Regions from separate parts of the Homo sapiens genome. Here all the other regions are linked to region 1. The links are contacts of gene promoters, found by promoter capture Hi-C in blood cells and fetal thymus (Javierre and others, 2016). All regions are on one chromosome and are shown on one strand. Each heading gives the region's core, a stretch centred on a gene start or on the middle of the fragment in contact. The rest is flanking DNA. Distances are from core to core; before and after follow the strand shown. Region 1 holds the start of EXOG (exo/endonuclease G). Region 2 overlaps CTDSPL (CTD small phosphatase like). Region 3 holds the start of WDR48 (WD repeat domain 48). Region 4 overlaps CTDSPL (CTD small phosphatase like).

Region 1 (5,292 bases), core at 1,054-3,553:
ACTCTTCAGTCCACTTTTCCAGAGAAGCCTTACTAATCAAAATCAGGTTCTTGTGTTATAATCTCTCATCACACTTTTTTTTTTTTTTGAGACACATTCTCCCTCTGTTGCCTAAGCTGGAGTGTGGTGCTGCGATCTTGGCTCACTGCAACCCCCACCTCCTGGGCTCAAGAGATCCTCCCATCTCAGTCCCCCAAGTAGCTGGAACCACAGAGGTGCACCACCACGCCCAGCTAATTTTTGTATTTTTTGTAGAAACGCGGTTTTGCCATGTTGGCCAGGCTCATCTCAAACTCCTGAGCTCAAACGCCTCAGCCTCCCAAAGTACTGGGATTACAGGTGTGAGCCACCACGCCCAGCCTCTCATCAAACTTTTTACTGTTCCTTAATTATACTACACTAACTTGCAATCACCTCCTTTGGAAAAATTATTGTAATTATACATCTAAAATTATTTGTTTGATGGGTCAACCCACTCTCCCAACTCAAAGTGTCACTGGGGTAGAGATCCTCTACTCTGGTCACACATAGGTCCCCAAGGGTTACCACAGTGCCAGACACATAGCAGGCACATAAATATTTGTTAAGGTAAAACTGAATGGTGCTCATTGCTGTAATATTTATGACAGAGCCTCCCAACTAGTGTGTCAAGATATGGGTATTTTCAGCCCTGAGACAGCTGGAAAGGGTCTGGCTTTCTGGCTGCCAGGCAGGGTTGATTTAACCAGTAAGTTATATAAATATAATTTTCTACATGTGCTATGATATGAAAAAGGTTGAGAATATTAATAATCATCCCTGTTTTAAATTTGGAGACATCTTTCATAAATACTGTTACTTCAGTTTTTTTATCCAACCACCTACCCATTATCTTGCTTTTGGAAATATGTTCAAGAACCCATCTAGGCACCCGCTTTGCCTGATCATAAGACAAAGCGTGATTAGTGTAACACCTTGCCTCTGTTCCAGTTAAAGGGAATCCAAATTGTTCCAAGACAGCCTTTTCTGCAGATCCTAAAAATGAAAAAAAAAAAAAAAGGGGGGGCAGAGACAAAAAAAACACACACACACAATTAGTGGCTCTTAATAATGAAAGATTATAAGGAAAAGGAGAGCGGTGTGATTTACAAAGGACTGGCTCAGAAGTCTAATCAACCAGAAAATCTCATTTTTGCAATTACTTATGAGATGAAGAAAACAGACAGTAGGCAAAGTACTGATTTGCCTATAATCAGTGAATAAAATGCAGCTACTGCATTAACTTTTGAATAAAGACTTGATCTTATTAGTCTTTCACATCAAATTTCCAAATCATCTCTGAAGCACTGATATGTGTGCTGTTGCAAGATGACAGTAAAACTGGTACTGTTTTTCCTAGTGGGAGAAACCAAGCACACATTCAGCAGTGAGTCAGTTTCGAGATAATCCTCCCCGATGCCTTCTCAAATCCTCAACCCCCCAAGGGGGTAGTTCTCTTGCTAGATGCCAAGTATCCAAAGGAGCAAGTTAAATTAGCACATCCGCAAAGTACAAGAAATGAGCTCGTGTTAATTTTTTTTTTTTTTTTGTCAAATATAAGGTACCCATTGCAACATGAGTTTTTATACACTTTGGAGGGATAGCAGGTATTCTTCAACTGAACAATGACGAAAGAAGGGCAGTTAACTCATCTACTAAAATTATGTATTAATTTATTCCTTCATTCATACTTACTGAATGCCAATTATGTACCAGGTACTGTGCTGGTTAGATGATGGAGACCAAAACAGACATAGTCTCAAGTCTTATGGAGCTAACAATCTTAGTAGAGAACACAGACATTAAAACATAGATATCGCGATGAGTAACTGGGGGGAAGAAAGTCGGGCGGCGGGGGTGGTTCTGTGCAGAAAACGAAGATGCCCGGGGGAAGGAAGGACATGAGGGAAGCTGGCGAGACGCGAGGTGGGGAAGGGAGGCCGAGCCGGGAGAATAAAGGTCAGAAACCAAGGGCCAGGCTAGGGGCCCAGCAAACGGTGAAGGCTGTCCGTCAAGGACTGCCATTCACACTCCAGGTAGGAGTCGGAGCCCGAAATCTGGGCCAGCGAAGGGAGGACGGGCCCACAGACTTACCATCCGGCTGCTTCCCTGTCAACGCTCCCTCAGCGCCCTGACTCCGGAAGAACTGCAGGGCCGCGAGCCCAGCTCCCGCAGCGCCCACTACAGCCCCAGCCACGAAGCCGCTCAGAAAACGACGGGAACCCCGGAGGCGGGAAGCGATACTCTTGATAGCCATCTTGCCCGAGGTACCGGCCTTTTACCACGGCGCATGCGCGCGCATGCCGGCCCCCGCCATCCCCCCGTCACCCCACGCCTCACCGCCCGCCAAGCTGAGGGCCTCGCACGCCCCCTGGTGACAAACCGGGATGCCTAGCGCATCCCCGCTTCATCCCTGGTCCACTGGACGGGGCGATGGATGGGGAATATGATGTCTAGAGGGCTTAGTGGTATGCTATATATAGTCATGAGAAGAAAATACCTTTAGTCTCATTTAATAGGTGAGTAAACACTTGCGCATGGTTACACTAAGGTCTCCAGAGCCGATATTCCAACTCAGGTCTATTTATTTATTTAGCGACAGGGTCTCTGTTACCCAGGCTGCAGTACAGTGGAATGATCATAGCTTACTGCGATCTCGAACTCGTGGGCTCAAGCGATCCTCCTGCCTCAGCCTCCTGAGTAGCTGGGACTACAGGCACGTGCCACATTGCCCGGCTAAATTTTTGGCGGGAGTGGGGGAGCGGTAAAGAAGGGGGTCTCCTTATGTTGCCCAGGCTGGTATCCAACTTCTGGCCTCAAGCAATCTTCCCGCCTCGGCCTCCCAAAGTGCTGTAAGTCCAGGTGTGTGTCACTGTCCCCAACCTTCTCTTTTAAATTGGAATAATAATACTTAGACCATAGCGTTCTTGTGAGGATTAAAGGAGATGACACATGTAAAATGTTTAGGGAAGTACCAGGGGCATGTCACTAAGTGCTCTATAAATGTTAGAAATGTTTGAGTCATCTCTACTCTTTGTCTTGATAGAATATAAAATCCAGATTGCTGAACGCCTGCTGGCAAAGAAAGGATAGATTTCATGGACTACCACTCACAAACAAATGAGTCTTCATTTTGCAGCATGATCTCTAGCATTCCGTGTGGACTTAGTTCTTAGCAGAAACTTCAAGTTTCCTATTTCTTAGATAACTGGTAGGAATAACTTTCATCTGATCCCACTGATGATTCACTGACCAGGAGGCCACTTCTAACAACCTACTGAAGTGTGCACATTATTTTGACAGCCTCAAATGGGAGGCTACCCCCTTGCCAGGAATACCTCTTCTGAAGGACCCTGACTGGTTAAGCTACATCAACCAGAGTCCTTCCTAGGGATTTTCGATCTAGTAGTCTCTCTGGGTAGCAAAGCTGTGACGTAAAACTCACAGGCGCAGTGGCTCATGCCTGCAATCCCAGCACTTCGGGAGGCCAAGACTGGAGGATCACCTGAGGTCAGGAATTTGAGACCAGCCTGGCCAACATGGTGAAACCCCGTCTCTACTAACAATACAAAAATCAACCAGGTGTGGTGGCGCGTGCCTGTAATCCCAGCTACTCGAAAGGCTGAGGCAGAATTGCTTGAACCCAGGAGACGGAGGTTGCAGTGAGCTGAGATCGTGCCACTGCACTCCAATCTGGGCAATAGAGCAAGACTCTGTCTAAAAAAAAAAAAAAAAGCTCTGGCACTGTCTACAGCCTTGTTTCCTGCTAAGAAGTCAAAGGAGCAGATGCATCTGGTCTTGCTCTGAGCAATAATGGAAGAAATACCAGGACACAGGTGGAGGCCTGCAATGTTATGACCCCAACTCCCACAGGCTCCTGAAGCCCACATACATCCTGCCTTTCTGAAGTCTTGGCTAGTCATTTCCCCCAGAATCCTTTCAGTGAAACCCCCTTTTTTGTCTAATGGCTTCTGTCACCTGCAACCAAGAATCCTAACAAATACAACCAGACAACACTGGTATCTGTAGGCTTCAAGGCTACTTCAGCAGCTTTCCCCAGAATTTACTAAATACACAATCACTGAGGTACTGTATTTCTTAAGGCCCTTGTAAGTGCCAGACACTGTGCTAAATACTAGAGAGATAAATATTAGATGGCTTTTCCTAATCCAGATCCTCTACTTCTGAACAAGTGTAACCCCACTTTTGGTCCCAAGAGGTCAAGAACTGGAAGGGTTGCCTGCCTCAGGGTAGGAAAACTCCCTCTGGGCCTGTTTGCCCACCTGTAAAATTGGAATTGGGCCAGTGATTTGTAAACTTTAATCAAGGTTCCTAGGTGTTCCATAGGGATACCTGAGACTTAAAGGAAGGGATGGGAGGGTAAGTGAAATGGTCCCTTGGCCCTCTTCTACTTGCTCATTCAGACAAGCCTGGTTTTATAAACCAACTTCTGTGTCAAATTTCTTTGGTCAAAGAATTCCTTTGCTATAGGGAAAGTTTGACCAGATGACTCCTAAGGTCCAACCTTTCAGCTTTTCCAGCTCCAAGATCCTGTATCAAAAATGTCAGCCCTTTGCTCTCCTTCCTTCATTAGAGGCACTCACTAATAAAAGGTGAACTTTCTAAACGTGAAAGAGCAAAAACAGCCAAATATTGGGCAACTGGTCCCTGAATAAAGGGTCATCAAAAACTTTCTCCACAAGTTTCAAACCGTTGCTTAATTCTCATAATAAAGGGTGAATTTAAAGGGTGTTTCTCCACTTAGGCAAGAAAGAGTCATCGACCAAAAAAACTTGTTACTGCAGAAAGCAGTGAGGTGATTTCTGGGGCCTTCCTGTTTTGTTAGGTATTAAAGACTATCATTATTTTATTATTGGGGAACCATGAGTTCCTTTAGTGAGATTAAGTCCAAATCTCTGAAACTGGAGACCTGGTTTGCTAATTCCAGGTTGGGGATAAGGACCCATAATTGTATTTTTTAATAGCTCCGCAAATGACTCCAGTACTCAGCAACGTTTGGGAATGACAGAGTTTGTCATCTGCAATAGTCCTGAATACAACTATTTTCAAGGCTTCTCTGCTCCACTTACAACAATATTGCTCAGGGTTGTCTGCAAAGTACAGGACTGGTGGCAGAGGATGAGGGAATGGGGAGTGTCTTGGACATTTGGAAAATATGCTAACCTGCAGAAACTTACTCAAAATCCCAGAACAGTTCGTTCAGGAGAATGGTCCCCATTCATAATGTCCCCAACTAGACCCTGGACTTCTGAA
Region 2 (5,292 bases), core at 1,699-4,198, 550 kb after region 1:
TCATGTCTCAGAGACACTGAGCAGTCTGCAGAAAGCACCTTCCCAGGTCCTATTTTCATCCTTGGATCACACGAACTTTCCCCATAACTAACTAACTAACTAATTAACAAATGAACTTACATACTAAAAAATTCATAAACTTGGAACCAGTACACTATTCATAATTTCTACCACATGATTACTTACTGTACAGAAGCTACACACTGCTAACGGAGTCAGTAAATTAGTTATCTGAACACCTGGGAGGCCATCGTGCCTCCAGACAGGGAAAGGGAGCTTACCCAGGTCTTTCCTTCTCTGTATAAAGAGTGAAGCAGCCAAAGTGGTTTCATTTTCACAGCTGTGGGAGGTTCCAGGATTCTTCCTTTCAAATAAGGTTAGTTCTAGGGCCTGCAGGAACCTCTTGGAGGCTCAGTGGCTAATTTTCTAATCACTCTTGGATTGGTCTAGAACTCTCAGAATAGGAGAAGTGGGAAGGGTAAATGGAAGGATTTCCTCAGTATCAGCACTGGCCTCACCCACCCTCAGCATTCACTTGTTCCTGAATAGGGCTCCAGACGTGGGTGCTCTGGACTAATGACCCTACTGCCTTCCAGCCCCAGCTGCTACTTCTCTCCCCCAGCTATCATCCAGAAGGTCCTTGATTTGCTCATAAACTGGTAAGAGAGTTTTGGTTGACACATGAAATAAAAATTCAGTTTAATGGACAAATGTTGACGTCATAACATTAGGTGAAAAAGTTAATATATATTATTGTATATCTGACTTGATCATAACTAAGCAAAGCAAACTAAAAAAGATTATAATTGAGAAAAGATTTGCAAGAAATATGTCAAAAGGTTAACAGTAATTAATTGTCAGACCATAAGTGTTTACATTTCTTCCACATTTTCCAAATGTTTTCTGGTAATTATGTATTGCTCTAATAATGGGGGGGGAGTAAACAGTCTTGTTAAACTGTCTTTTGGCAACTTTGTGCTATTTCTAAACCATATCCTCCTTCTAATTCTCAACCTTCAGCCTAATTCGTACGCTTCTACACTCCAAGCCTATGACACAAACCAGGCAACAGCAGTGTTCTCAGCCTTGCAGAAGCAATGTGGCTACTGTCACGGCCCACAGCCACTCCTGGTCTATGATATCAACAAGAATGAACATACCCACCAAACTCAAAACCGGAGGAGGCCCATGTGAAAAGAAGGTACCAAAGAAGTGTCCTTTTCCCAGTAGAACGCTCCTGCTGGCTTTCTCATCTGGCATCCAGCTCCACCGCTCATCCTCCTTGTACACACAAAAGGGGTCTTGTTGCTTCTCTGCTTTGACCAAGACTTTACCTCTCACCACCTTTCCTCGCTTGCCCCCTTTACGTTTCCACTGATAAGACACATGAGAGGTCTCCTGGTGGCCCAGGTATCCAAGAACAAGGTCTTTTAGGATATTAAAGATAGTTGAATGCATACATCTCCCCATAACATTGGTTTTAAGAAATTACTTTGGAAGAGCAAAGGAGGGAGTAGCAACTATGAACGTCAGTCTAAAATATTCCGTAACGATTTTCATTTTTAAAAATCAGACTTAGGAGGAAGGAGTCATCAAAAGTCATTCCAAAGTTTTCTGTCACTTTTCCCTGATAACCTCCCTTATCCAAACCCAGCACCTGCCCACCTTACTCCCTAGCTTCCTCCATGGTAGACTCCTCATCACACTGACATCCCTTCTCCCACTCCTCCTCCCCCCATTTCCCCACTTCTCAGAGCATCCTGCTCTTCAGAGCCTGGCTCAAAGCCAACCTCACCCAGGAAGCCTTCGCCAACCGCCCCATGGAGATCATTTGTTCTTTGGCCACTAAACTCCCAAATGAACGTGTGTCTGACTGAGCTGTGTCTTTGGGCCAGGCCAGTTCATCCACCTGTCTGCTGGACATCTCCTCTGGATGCCTCGACTCAGCATATCTAAATGGGGCTCACCACTCCCCTCTTCACTCAGGGTACCAATATCCTAAGCTAGACATCTGTCCTTTTCCCTCATTAAGTTGTTGGTTCTGACATCCTAATCGATTCTTAAATATATCCTTAGCAACTCCTTGTCCCTGCCCTATCCTGGCTCAGGTCCACTACAGTTGCTTTTTGACTTGTCTCTCTGCTGTTGATTTTGCATCCCACAATTAATTCTTGACATGACAGGTAAAGCCCATCAAGTTAGAAAAATGTGTGGTGGTTAGGAATGTGGGCTCCAATGCCAACTTGCCTAGGTGCGAAATCTGGCTCAACCAGCAACAGTACAGGACCTGGGCAAGTTGTGTGACTTCTTTGTGCCTCAGTTTCTTTATCTGTAAAATGGGGATAATAAATACCCATCTTAGGGTTTGTTGTGAGAATTAAATGAGTTCTTATAACAGTGCCTAGCATAGAGCAAGCACTCCATAATTTTTGTTTGTTTTTTAAAGACAGGGTCTCACTCTGTCACCCAGGCTGGAGTACAGTGGTACAGTCTTGGCTCACTGCAACCTCTACCCCCGGGGCTCAAGACATCCTCCCACCTCAGTCTCCCAAGTAGCTGGGACTATAGGCATGTGCCACCACGCCCAGCCAATTTTTCTATTTTTAGTAGAGACAGGGTCTTGTCATGCTACTCAGGCAGGTCTCAAACTCCTGAGCTCAAGTGATCTGCTTGCCTCGGCCTCCCGAAGTGCTGGGCTTACAGTTGTGAGGCACCACACCCAGGCTATATACATTTTAGCTTTTATTATTATAGTCTCATAAAAGCTTTCGCTTCATAAATGAGTGAGGGTTCTCCAGGAACGCTGGATCAAAGGCTGGATTCTGCGGGCGTACATTTTTTTCTCTGCTATCTGACAACTAGGAGAAACAACTCACTATAACAGATCTTGGTTACATAAACTGTAATTCAGAAAGCAAAACTAGAAAAATCTCAGGAAGTGATTTTAATCAATTGCTCTAAAAATTAGATATAGACATGGGGAAGGAAAAGGGAGGGGTTGCATGTCCCAGTGAGCTCTGCTGGGGGCTGTTTTCCCTTAGGAAAAGAACAATGCTTTCAAGTGGAGGTCAGGAAGCATACACTCTCCCTCCCCAATCCCCTTACTTAATTCCCTCTGGGGCTGAAGCTTAGCTCTCTTCTGCAGAGCATTCTGCCTGCTGGGTCTGCATCTGGTTCCAGGGACTTCTTATCTCAAGCTGTACATCAGAAAGGAGCATTGAGGAGGACCATGCAAGGAGGACCACAGAGGTGGCTAGCTGACCCAGCAGTCTCCCCTGCCGGGTCCCCCAATAGGCTACAACATGCTGCCATTTTCCCAAGGCTCAGCCCGGGGCAGGCCTGCTTTGAAGGACCACCCTCTTTCTCCTCCTTATCCCTGTCAATGAAAACATGCCCGGCCCAAATGCGGTGGCTCATTCCTGTATCCCAGCACTTGGGGAGGCCAAGGCGGGCAGATCACCTGAGGCCAGAAGTTTGAGACCAGCCTGGACAACATGGCGAAACCCTGTTTCTACTAAGAATACAAAAATTAGCGGAGTGTGGTGGCGGGCCCCTGTAATCCCAGCTACTCAGGAGGCCGAGGCACAAGTTGCAGTGAGCTGACATAACGCCACCACACTCCAGCCTGGGTGACAGGGTGAGACTCTGTCTCAAAAAAAAAAAAAAGAAAAAAAGATAGAAAGAAAGCATGCCCATAGCCGGTCCCAGCACACAAAGATGCCATGGGCACAGATACCCCACAGGGAGAGTAAAGGGAAATCCTTGATAGAGGTAGATGAGGTAGAGAAGTTAAAGACTTAACTTTCTCCATTTCTGTGCACAAACTCGGGTGGAGTAGAAACCCTGGAGAGGGTTGTGAAGAGCTGGAGATGTGGGGCATGGTCCCTGTGTATCCACTGGAGGAACAGGGTAGCATGTGGCTCTGTTTTCCTGGATATGCCCTTAGAGCTAATGCTTCTGCCTAGGCCCCTGGCCCTGGTGTCACTGCAGCCCAGCAAATTAAGACCCTGTTTCCCACTCATACACATTTCTCCCTTGCCCCTCCCATGGGCTGGGGACCTCCTATCTGCCAGCAATAGGCTTACAGAGGGTCTATGAATGGGGCAGCTTAAAGTACACATATAGACAACTGCCTTCCTCTCTAAAGACAAGACAGGAAGCCTTCCAAATGCTTCCCTGGTCTTCTAGGCAGAGTGCTGGCCCAGCAGCAAGAACCCGTATCTTCAAAGCACCAGTTACAGATGGGGAGTGTAGTGGACATCTGACATTTTTTGCCTGCCAGAATCCATTACCCTTCTTTCTGGTAAAAGTTCCTCTATTTTCCTCTGGGGAACCACTCTCACCCTACCAATGTTCTGTCCTTTATCAAGGGCTGGCCAATCTGAGCCACATGACTGGCTTAGGGATGGGCACGTGACCCACCCTGGACCAAAGACTCTGCAAGGATTCATGCAAGCCCTATTGGAAGGGATATTTGCCTTTTGCTGGGTTTCTTAACATGGCAGGATGTAAGCCTGGAGCAATTGGTAGTCATCTTTGCACCTCGTAAGAAATACCTACCTGAGCATGAAGCCAAAACTGAGAAAAAAGGAGCTGGGTTACAAAGAAGGACAGATTTCTGACGACACTGTCTGAGGACTTGGTTTTATTAAAACCAGACCCTTCTGGAATTTTCAGTTATGTAAGTAAACAAATTCTCTTTTGCTCCTAAGCCAATATAATTGGGTTTATGTGATTTGAAATGGAAAGGATTGTCTCTCAAAATGTAAGCTCTGATGCTAGGTGGTACAGAAGCATTGACCAACAACATAGGCAGGGGTCAGACCTCATGAAGCCCACATCTAGCAGGAGAGACATTTGAATATGTACTTCTGGTATACAATGAGTCTTGTTAGGATGGGAAAGTGCAGAGCACTCTTGGTGCCCAAAGAAGAGCACATAGCCCAGACTGGGGACTATGAGTAGCGAGGGGTATAGAAATAGCTTTTTTTTTTGAGACGGAGTCTTGCTCTGTCACCCAGGCTAGAGTACAGTGGTGCGATCTCGGCACACTGCAACCTCTGCCTCCCGGGTTCAAGTGATTCTCCTGCCTCACCCTCCTGAGTAGCTGGGACTACAGGCGCCTGCCACCAAGCCCGGCTAATTTTTGTATTTTTAGTAGAGACGGGGTTTCACCATATTGGCCAGGCTGGTCTTGAACTCCTGACCTTGTGATCCATCTGCCTTGGCCTTCCAAAGTGCGGGGATTATAGGCGTGAACCACCGTGCCCAGCCCAGAAATGCCTTCTTGAA
Region 3 (5,292 bases), core at 1,235-3,734, 560 kb before region 1:
ACAAACAGCAAGAGGTATAGAACAGCGGTTCTCAACCAGCGGCAATTTTGCCCTTGAGGGGACATTTGAAAATGTCTGGAGACATTTTTAGTTGTCACAACTGGGGAGATGCTACTACATCTAGTTGGTAGAAGCCAGGGATGATGCCAAAGAACCTGTGATGCATAGGACAGCTCCCTCCCTCAGACACAGCGAAGAATTATCCAGATGAAATTTCAAGAATGTTCAGGTTGATAAACTCTGGTCTAGGATTAAAACATGACATTGCCCGCAGTAGCTTTCTTGGAAGCATGGAGGGCAACTCTAATTTATGTTTTTGTTTGTTGGGATTTTTACAATGAACACGCATTAGTTTAAAAAACACCTCATAGACAATGATGGTTCAGATGAAATCAATCCCTGTGGCTTCTCAGGCTGCTTCTATACCTTAGGGACAAATTCCGAAAGTTCCCTGAATCTTCTCTTCAGCAGGTTAATCTAAGACAGCTCTTTCAAAAGTTCTTCATAGGAAATAATTTCAAGTCAGTTCACCAATCTGATTGCTACCTATGAAGAACAAGGTCCTAAGTGCTGAACACCAAACTCTAATTTTGTACTTTGACCAGTGAAAAGTGGAATTATCTATCACCTGCCTCATTCTACGTGCACTGGCTCACATTCAGCCTATTGGAACACTGTTTTTCCAAACCTGCTGCAGTTAATTTACATTTTCTCCATCCCATACTAGTACAATTGCCTTGTAAGTCTTTTTAAAATATATATACTTTATTGCATGCATTTTGGGAGTGGGCAGGCCTGGGAAGGAAGCAAGCAGGGAACACACTGCAGTAATAGGAGTTTTAAGTCTTAATGCAATAAACTGAAAGGCCTGATTAACTACCCTTACTCTCCTAAGATGTACACCACCATAGAGTCTATAATACAATCGGGTTACTTTTTGAGTTATATTTCAGTCCCAAGGAGACATTCTCACTACCTGCCTTGGATGCTGGTGATACTTAAATCCTATCACTAATGCACTGAAAAACACCTAATAGGGTGAGTTTAGACTTATTAATTTCACTCATTTCAACAAACATCCAGTGAGTGCTTAAGACACTGTACTGATCAGTGAGATCAATAAAACCAAGATGTGAACTAATCAGAAGACTTTATGGCCTACCACCTTCTGCTGGGATTACCTTACTGAAGGACCCCTTCATCTAACTACCTTTATCTGACACTTGATTTCAACCCGCAGAACTCCATATAATGCTGTGTTTTATAAAGAAAGCCTAGGTGTTAATTATTTCTACACCCTTTCAATCCCTTTTCCCCTTTGGGGGCCACCCTAAGTGCTAGGTAAATGTTTAATGAATAAATGCACCAAACTGCCACTACCACATACAATATACCTGCAGGCAAACACCTGTAAGAGGGCTTTTATTCCCTGCATCACTGAAAATATTAAGTGGCAATAACTATTTTTTAATATTATTATTATACTTTAAGTTCTAGGATATATGTGCACAACGTGCAGGTTTGTTACATAGGTATACGTGTGCCATGCTGGTTTGCTGTACCCATCAACTCGTCATTTACATTAGGTATTTCTCCTAATGCTATCCCTCCCCTAGCGCCCCCAGCCCCCGACAGGCCCCGGTGTGTGATGTTCCCCGAAGTGGCAGTAACTCTTAAGCGTAACCGCAAACAAAAGTGAATTCACAAAGGCATAAGGCACAAGACACACACGGTAAGATTAGACAACTCTTTACCACATGGACAATAAATTACACAAACAATAAAGACAGATTCAGCGATGCACACTTAAGATGAAGAAATGGTGAAGAGGAACTTAAATACCAAAACAATTAAAATTATAATTTCCCCACGCACATTCTTATGTCACTTAAACCTACCCAGGGGACAGCTCCCACATAAGAGAGGGCTGGGGGCTCCCAAGTGCGGAATCCTCAGCAGAAACCCCGCAGGGCCGTTGGCGCTCCGCCGCCTCGCCACGCCCCCGCACAAGCCGCTCACTCCTCCAACGCCCACCCCCCTGGGAAACCCCTGGAGGCCTCGGCTCCGACGCAGCGAGGGCAGAGCGCTTCGAAGAAAGACAGGGCAAGGGGGAGGCAAGTGGGCGGGGAACGAGCCTATCCCGACCCCGCAAGTCCACTCCTACAGAAGAGCGGCGACAAGCAATCCCGGGCTCAGAATGCCGCCCACGAGGGTCCCGGGCCTGGGCCCCAAGGGCCAAGCAAGCCGACCCCCGCCCCTTCCTCAAGCCGTTAGCGCCGCGGCCCCACCCCTCGTGGCCGGCCGCGCCCCGCCCCGTTCGCCCCATGCCGCTACCCCAGCTGGTCGTGGCGCCGGGCACCTTCTAGCTGGAGTGGGCCCGGAGCTGCCGGCCGCGTCCGGAAGACCGAGGAACCGGGCTTCCATACCTGCACTTTCCTCCGCCCTGCTGTGTTCTGCCGGTGATGGGCCGCCATCTTGCATGTTGACACTCCGACGTCACTTCCGGAGGTGGCTCAGAGCGGGAGGATGTCCTGCCCCTTTCCCTTTGGCCAAGGGTTAGTGGCGGGGCTGAAGGTAAACAGGCTGTTGTGTTTCCTCGGTGCTGTTAGTTGCTGTGTGGCCGGTAGCCATGTGATGAGGTAGATGCACCTAAAAACAAAACCACTGTGCAAGTATAATGCTGATGGGGAGAGAGCCACTTTTCAGGGCTGAGGGAGCAACACGAATTCACTTGTGTGGTCCTAGACCCTGGCTTGCGCTCTTTTCCGCGCCCTCCCCGAGAGGCCCAAGCAAAACGAAAGCACTGAAAGAATTAACAGTGCTAGACATGGCGCTGGACCATCTCCTGACCTTTCCTAGGCAGGCAGGAGAACCAAGTGAACCAAGTGATTTACTGTTAAGTACCTAAAAATGCGGAGAATTATGTCGTGGCCTCAAAGGGGGAGAGATAGAAGTCCTTGCAAAGGAGGTGGCCTCCATCTTCAGGGGGAGCAAAGAATCCGTTTAAATTAAAAGGATAAAAAGTGGGGCCATAAAAGAACGAGATCATGTCCTTTGTAGGGACATGATGGAGCTGGAGGCCCTTATCCTTAAGCAAACTAACAAAGGAACAGAAAACCAAATACCGCACGTTCTCACTTATAAGTGGGAGCTAAATGATGAGAACACATGGACACAAAAGAGGGGGACAACACACACTGGGGCCTTTCGGAGGGTGGAGGGTGGGAGGAGGGCGAGGATCAGGAAAAATAACTAATGGGTACTAGGCTTAATACCTGGGTGACAAAATAGCCTGTACAACAAACACCCGTGACACAAGTTTACCTATATAACAAACCTGCACTTGTACCCCTGAACTTAAAAGTTTAAAAAAAAAAAACAAGACAAAAAGATGTTATAGGAAGGCGAAAACGGTACACCAGCTAAAATTGTTCCCAGAGACAATTCTAGTTTAAATCATCTCTTATACTGGAACAGTTAGGTTTGACTTAAGGTGGTTTTCCTGACCACTAATTATAAGAGCTGAGGGTGATCAGACCCTCTCTAGTGAAAGTGAATCCTATAGAACTACACTGTGGGATATAGCATATGATGTATCTGCTAGTCATTTGTGGCTCTTGAGCACTTGAAATATAGCTAGTTCCAGTTGAGATATGTAATTGTAAACTACCCCCAAATTTCAAAGACTAGTTTGAAGAAAAGAATGTAAAATATCTCATTAATAATTTTTTGTATTGATTTCATGTTGAAATGATGTTTGGGGGTATATTAGGCTAAATAAAATTTATTAATTTTGTCATGGATATTAGAATATTTAAAATTACATATGTGGTCACAAATTTCTGTTGCATAGTGCTAGTATATAAGTAATGCTTAGAAAAGTTGTCTTGACAAATACTTCTTAAATTAATAAAGAAATGTGAATTAGATGAGTAAAAATTGTGATGGCAGAAAGCTTCTTAAGCAAAACTGGCAGTGATAACTTATAGGTAAATTACTGCATCATTACAGGCTTATTCATTCACTGATTCATGTATTCATTCATTTAACAAAATATTATTTAGCATATCATATATGCCAGGCACTATATTAGGTGTTGGGGAATCAGTGGTGAGTGCACATAGTCATAGAACTTAGAGTCCCAGGATGAGACAGGAATTAATACAGAGATAAGTACTATGAAGAAAGATGATTGTAAGACAGGAAGTATCTTGAGTCAAGAGTTAACTAGGCAAGGAGAGGGAACAGTCTGAGCAAAGGTCTTGTAGCAGGAGAGAGCATGGAACATTACAGGAACTGAGAGTCAAGGCTTAGAGTACAGAGAAGTGAAAGGAGTATGCAGAGGCCATACCCAGCAGGATCTTTTAGACCAATGGGAAGCTGTTGAAATACAGGTAGGGAAATAATATGTCTGTATTTTAAAAATTGCTTAAGTGTCTATTGAGCACCTATGATGTGCAAAATACAATACAGGTATGTTGCTCTGGACAATATACTGGTACTTGCTAGAAATTGATATGTTGTAGTCCTGCTTTGGACCTGAAAAATATTGAAATAGTGAAGTTCTTTCAGTGGGCAGAATTTTCACCAGTATGTTTTGATGTTCAGTTTGGCTGAAAGGAGAAATGGTCAATTCAGGGTCAGAGGATAATTTTTTGGCCAGTTTGTGAAGGACATGGAAAGAGCAAGACTGGAGAACTAGTGACAAGGAAGACTCCAGAAGGGATATAGTGATGGACCTCTCAGAATAAATCTTAAGAATCATATGGATGAAATGAACTGCTTTGTGATGAAACTCAGCCTCACTGCCTGCTCAGTAGAATCATGAAATAAATGGCAATGGCAATGGCAACAGGATTGGAGCTATGCATGGGATCACCAAGCCACCGCTGGGTGTTCAGAAGCAGTGACCAATACCCCATGCTCTGGGAGGGTCAGCCAGTCACATGTAGGCAAGTCTATTCCATTGGTCATTGGCCCTCCCCATCATTGAGGGAGTTCTTATTTGTCCTCTCTAAAATATGTTTATTCTAGATTGAGATTTGCTTTCCCTGCTCACTGTACTTCCGCTGACACCACCATCTAGGGAATTACTCAGTGCTTTAGACACTATCATTTTCTCTAACACTATATTGCTTTTGACCAAGAAATTCACTCTGCAATGAAAGAAGTAATGCAATGGGCTATTGCCCATGGAATTTATTGGTCTAATTGTGTACTCAATCACTGAGAAGTATCTTGTCTTATTGAAGATATATTGAAGACTTAGCTATGGTGCCTTCTGGGAGATAA
Region 4 (5,292 bases), core at 1,157-3,656, 520 kb after region 1:
TCTTAGGATCCTGGTTATTTTCCTCTCCGTGTACATAAGATGGCACTGGATTCTTCCATTTCTCTCACATCCAACCATCAGGAATTGTCAGTTTCATCTCCAAAGATAGCCTGACTCCATTTGCATCTATTTATATTGCCACCACCCTTAGCCTGGGCCTCGAATCTCTGGCCTGGGATGGCTGTGTGAGCCTCGTGAAAAACCTGTCTTTCCCACGGGGCCTCCTTTCTAGCCCATTCACCTAGAAGCTGTCAGAGTGGCCACTGGAAAACATATGTGCCATCATGTCACTCCTCTGCTGAAAACTCTCCACTGTCTACACACCGCACTTGGAGTAAGGCCCACGTTCCTCACTGCTGCGTCCCACATGGCACAGCTGAATGAGCTCCATCTGGAGCCCCTGGAGCCACACTGGCTTTGAGTATGGTCAGGACCTTTGTACCAGTGTTCCCTCTGCATGCATTCTCTCCCCAGCTCTTTGCAGAACATCTGTCTCCTGGTTTTTCAGGTCTTGACTTCCTCTCCCATCCACCTAGAGCCACATCTATCTTCCTTTCTGGGTTGTTTCCCTCACAGAGTGGAGTACTATGTGGGATTGCTTGATTTCCTCTCTCCTTGTCAGGGCCCAGGCCTGAAACATCCCCACCACCACATCCCTAGCACCTCCCAGAGTATCTACCACAAGAGGGGCTCAGTAAACATGAATTTCACCACTGAATGAATGAGCTGGCTCCAATGTGTCTTGAATGGCATGACACTGCCCCCTAGAGGTCCTCTGGGCACTTGGGCCAGACCAGCCCCTGAGTGACAGGATGGTGCCCAGCCGTCCACTCCCATAGATGCCCATCCACTTCCTTGAAGCCCAGGAGCTGGATGGGAGTTTGAGCCCAGCTCACAGTTGCGGATCATCCTGCCTGGCCCTCTCTCATGACCTAGGAAATTTCCCCCAAAGCAGGCTTGGAGAAAGAAATAAAGGGGTTTCTGAGAGAAAATCCTCATAACTGAAGATACCTAAAAGAGTGGGCCATACTGAGTGGCTAGGCCTGGAAGAAACAGGAGCAGTTGCCAAGCCTGACACGAGGCCAGGCCCCTGCACCAAGACCAAGTAAGGGGTACAACCAGGCATCAGCGGGACCCAGTGACTCTGCCAGGGAGGCAGAGAGCACCTGTGGCTGGTGGCGCTGGGAAGGCCAGTAGTGGAGTGCAGAGCAAGTGCCAGCACAGCTGTGGGACGTGGGCTGCAAAGCTGCAAGCAGCAGCTATGATTCCGTGGGAACATCCTCTCCTCTCCAAGGACATCCTGTAGGAGGCAGAGTCCAGGAGCAGCTGTGTTTCCTACTGGCCAAGGGAGGTGAGAGCTCAGGGCACTACAGTCATCTGCTGGTGAGGCTAACCAGGGGCCACGTGGGTGGGTTGTAGGCAACTGAGTCCAGATCAGGGGTATCCCATCTTTCGGCTTCCCTGGGCCACATTGGAAGAAGAATTGTCTTGGGCCACACATAAAATACACTATCACTAACAATAGCTGATGAGCTTTAAAAAAAATCTCCTAACGTTTTAAGAAAGTTTACGAATTTGTGTTGGGCCACGTCTAAAGCTGTCCTGGGCTGCACGCGCCCTGTGGGTCACAGGCTGGACAAGCTTGCTCTAAATGGAAAAAGATGATCTATTTCCTCATAATCATGAACACTTGTGGTAGCACCTATCTTTCAAGAGTGTCTGAGTCTGAGGCCTCCAGGCCTTAGAGAATGAATGTGAAGAATGTAAGCTTCACAAGGGGAGGGACTTTGTCTCTTTTTTTCTTTGCTATATCCCCAGTATTTAGTACTGTGCCTGGCACACAATAGGTACTAAGTAAATATTTGCTGGGTGAATGAAGGAAGGAATGACAATGAAGCAGATACTGAAAGGCTACGACAGTCAGCTTGAGGTTCCTGCGGGCTCCTGGGCAGCAGGCAAGGAGGTCCACTGCACCACTACTGCTGGCTGGAAGCCGAGTCCAGAGCCAAGGACAGGGGCATGACCACCCATCAGCAGGACATGTACCTCAGCGAGGAAAGAGGGTGGAAGGCTGCACGTGGGAGCTGATTCGGCTCAGCAAGGCTGGAGTAGCAGCAAGAGAAGGGTTGAAGAGACAGATGGTGGGGCAGGTGGGAGCCATCCAGGAAGAGTAACCGAACAAGGATGTTTAAGCAAATGCTGGGGACAATGCCAAGGAAGAGTGTTCTCAATTTTCCCAAACAAAAAACAGCTCTCACTTCACTGCTATTGGTGCAATCTTCTTGTTTATTTCTTTGGTTATTACTTCAGGCCCTTCAGCATCCCAGAGCACTGTTGGAAGAGCCACTGATGCTACAGATAACAATTAATCTTGGTACCACTCATCTGAAAGATTACCCACTGGGGAAGACTCTATTTTCCCTGAGGCCTTGTTCTCTTTTTGAAATGCAAAAATAAGGACGAGGATTTTGAATCCCACTCCACTGGTTCATGCTCTAAGGCCTGGTGATAAGTCTGGCAGCATTTGTGCAAGTGGGGCTCTCCCGCCCCTCAATCATCACAGAGATGGACCCAACCAGCAATGGCCAGGCCAGCAAAGCAGTGGAACATGCAGAGGAAGAGAAGGGAGTATGGGCATCAGGGCACCGTCCAGAAGCAGGACATGGCGGAGGAAGCTACTGTGTGATGTCCTGGAGACAGGCAAATGGTTAACCTGGGCCCCAGAAAACTCATCTTTGGGACCACTCAGGGTCCCTGAGATGCCCATGGAGACAACTGTGGTGCTACCAACAAATGGATGGTGTCAGCCCCATCAGAGTCAGAGTTTGGGAAATGGTCAAGGCAAAGATCTCCTGGGAGAAGCAAGGCCTACCCTGCCTGCCCCACACAGCACAGGCACCCTGCCACACCTGTGAAGGGGGAGACTAAACCATACTGGGAGGCTTGGGAACCTGCTAGTTTCCTTAAACAGTGGAGAGGACAAAGAAACCATTCTATTTGATCAGAGCCAGTGTAGATTTTAGGTCAGATTCATATCAAGCTTTAGGATCAAGATATGTCTGAATGATTTTATCATCACCAATAAATATATGTATATATATTTTTGAGACGGAGTCACTGTCGCCCAGGGTGGAGTGCAGTGGCATGATCTTGGCTCACTGCAACCTCTGCCTTCTGGGTTCAAGCAATTCTCGTGCCTCAGCCTCCCGAGTAGCTGGGATTACAGATGCCCGCCACCATGCCCAGTTAATTTTTGTATTTTGAGACGGGATTTCACCATGTTGGCCAGGTTGGTCTTGAACTCCTGACCTCAGGTGATACGCCCTCCTTGGCCTCCCAAAGTGTTGGGATTACAGGCATGAGCAACCGCGCCCGGCCTATCATCATCAACAAATAATTGTAACACAAAATAATGAACATCAGGAGTGCTTATCATGTGACAATGCCCAGCACAGTATGTGGAACACAGCAAGTGCTCAATGAATACTTGCTGTATGTGAGCCAGACACTGTGCTAAGTCCTTTACATATGTTATTTCATGTGATCTAGCCACAAGGTAGCTGGAATTATCCCCAATTTATAGAAGAAACTGACATGAGAAGTGAAGTAACTTGCCTCAGATCATACAGCTCATTAGGGCAGTTGGAACTCTCATTCAGCCCAAGCATGTGGGTGAGTGTCCAACACTTATCTCTCACTTGCTTCTCCCTCAAATCTGTGAAAGCAAAACCCAAGGACACAGGGGCCTCTAGCAGTTGGCTGACAGTCAATGGTTGAGGGGTACACCATCCTTTGTCCATTACACTGGACCTGTTTGTGATTCTCTGGACTGTGGACACCCAGCTTCAGGTGGCTGCACACAGCAACTTCATGGAGCATTTGTTCTAAGTGCTCCCTGTCACCATGGTAACCCAGAAGGCTTTCAGACTGGCACCATGCACATGGCCTGCATCCATCCCATCTGGGGTGGGAACCTGTCACCATAGAAATGGCTTCCCCCACCAAAACAAAGGGCTGCTTGACAGATTGGGGGTAGGGGTGGAGGGGCTGGGAGTACCAGGCTGGGAGTGTGGGGCTGGGAAGCAGGACTCACCTTGGCCAAGCTGGCAGTAAAGAGCACACATTCAAAAAGCTGCCCCATCCTCTGGAGGAACTCGTCCACATGTGGCCGCTTCAGCACATACACCTGCAATGGCAGGAGACAGCAGGCTGGTCAGATGTGGCAGTTGCTGGGGATGGCCTGGGGCCCAAATGCCCACTGTAGGAAGAATTGCTACAAAGGTTCCTGCCTCCCTCCCCCAGGTCTATGCATAGCAGGCAGAGGCCTAGACTGTATGAGGGGCTATGGAGTCAGACGTGGCACTCCTCAGACAGGGCTCCAGGTCTGAGTTCACTGCAGACGCCCCTCCTAAGGGAAAAAGAGAAGCTGACCATGGTGTGAGGGTCTTGGGGATATTCAGGGCCAGCAAATGGAAGGGTTGTACCATGTTTGTGTGTAATGACTCATTCATTTCACGTGTGTTTCTTGGCACCTGCTGAGGGTCAGGACCTGTGTGGGCACGGGCCACGGTCTGGGTGTTGTCCTTTCAGAGGTCCAGGCCCAGCATATTGCCCAGCAGGTCTGGGATTGCTCCGGCTGCCACCTTCTGTTCTGGATGGACATCCCCCTTACTAGGAAGGTCTGGGGTTGAAGCACAGGCCCAGCAAAGCTGCAAGAAGGGGCTTCCTTGTCAGCTTGGGAAGCTGTCTATGACACCATAAAGGGTGGGCTTGGTATGTTTCAGGGGATGTGAAACCATCGCTATTCCTGGACCCCAGACATAATCCATCAGGAGGGGTCTCTGAGCAGAGGGGTGCAAAGAGTAGCCTTTTCTAGAATGGCTGGGCTCTGTGCACCCTTTTGACCAGGCCAGGCCAGGGGGTAGCAGTGAGGAGGCCAGGCTTCAGACCATACATAGGTTCTTGATTAGGGAGCCTGAATGAATCTGGGGAAACAAGGGAGATGGGAGAGAAGGCAAAGCTGGTGAGAGAAGACAGAGGAAGTGGGAGGAGGGAAGAACTAATTCAAACTTGAATAAATTCCGTTTGAAATTAGCCACTTCACTAAAATAAATCAAACTCTTTAAAATTCAATTCAGCATGTTTACTGAGCCTCAGCTCTGAGCTCAGCCTGATGTAGTTGCAAAGATGAATAAAACACAGGCCTTGCCCTTGAAGAGCTCATACTCTAGAACAGACATAGGCAAAAACATATAAAAATAAACATGGCATAATGAAAGTTGTAGTAGAGGG

What was found. Contacts are between HindIII fragments. The CHiCAGO score rates a contact against its expected background, and 5 or more counts as called.
Region 2: a fragment that was not itself captured here is called in contact with the fragment with the promoter of EXOG in region 1 in 1 of 17 cell types (neutrophils); the score reaches 5.7 in neutrophils.
Region 3: the fragment with the promoter of WDR48 here is called in contact with the fragment with the promoter of EXOG in region 1 in 2 of 17 cell types (naive CD8 T cells and naive CD4 T cells); the score reaches 6.6 in naive CD8 T cells.
Region 4: a fragment that was not itself captured here is called in contact with the fragment with the promoter of EXOG in region 1 in 4 of 17 cell types (total B cells, naive CD4 T cells, activated CD4 T cells and 1 more); the score reaches 7.6 in total B cells.

The regions. Positions count from the first base shown.
Region 1 is chr3:38,493,351-38,498,642 of GRCh38, reverse strand. EXOG (exo/endonuclease G) reads right to left here and starts at 2,303. Exons shown (of 6, transcript NM_005107.4): 1 at 2,113-2,303; 2 at 865-1,014. The coding sequence starts at 2,275. RefSeq lists enhancers at 1,975-2,044, 2,105-2,154. The HindIII fragment of the contact is 8,358 bases long and covers 1-5,292 here.
Region 2 is chr3:37,939,794-37,945,085 of GRCh38, reverse strand. The region is part of intron 1 of CTDSPL (CTD small phosphatase like); the gene reads right to left. Among named protein-coding and RNA genes, the nearest start is that of MIR26A1, 27 kb to the left of the region's middle. The HindIII fragment of the contact is 362 bases long and covers 2,768-3,129 here.
Region 3 is chr3:39,049,208-39,054,499 of GRCh38, reverse strand. It overlaps WDR48 (WD repeat domain 48), which reads right to left and starts at 2,484. Exons shown (of 19, transcript NM_020839.4): 1 at 2,427-2,484. The coding sequence starts at 2,474. SCN11A (sodium voltage-gated channel alpha subunit 11) reads left to right here and starts at 2,556. Exons shown (of 30, transcript NM_001349253.2): 1 at 2,556-2,639. RefSeq lists a silencer at 2,281-2,380 and enhancers at 2,421-2,610, 2,631-2,680, 2,691-2,780, 2,451-3,323. The HindIII fragment of the contact is 5,994 bases long and covers 1-3,957 here.
Region 4 is chr3:37,970,301-37,975,592 of GRCh38, reverse strand. CTDSPL (CTD small phosphatase like) reads right to left here. Exons shown (of 8, transcript NM_001008392.2): 6 at 4,094-4,186. Among named protein-coding and RNA genes, the nearest start is that of MIR26A1, 3.5 kb to the right of the region's middle. The HindIII fragment of the contact is 1,272 bases long and covers 1,771-3,042 here.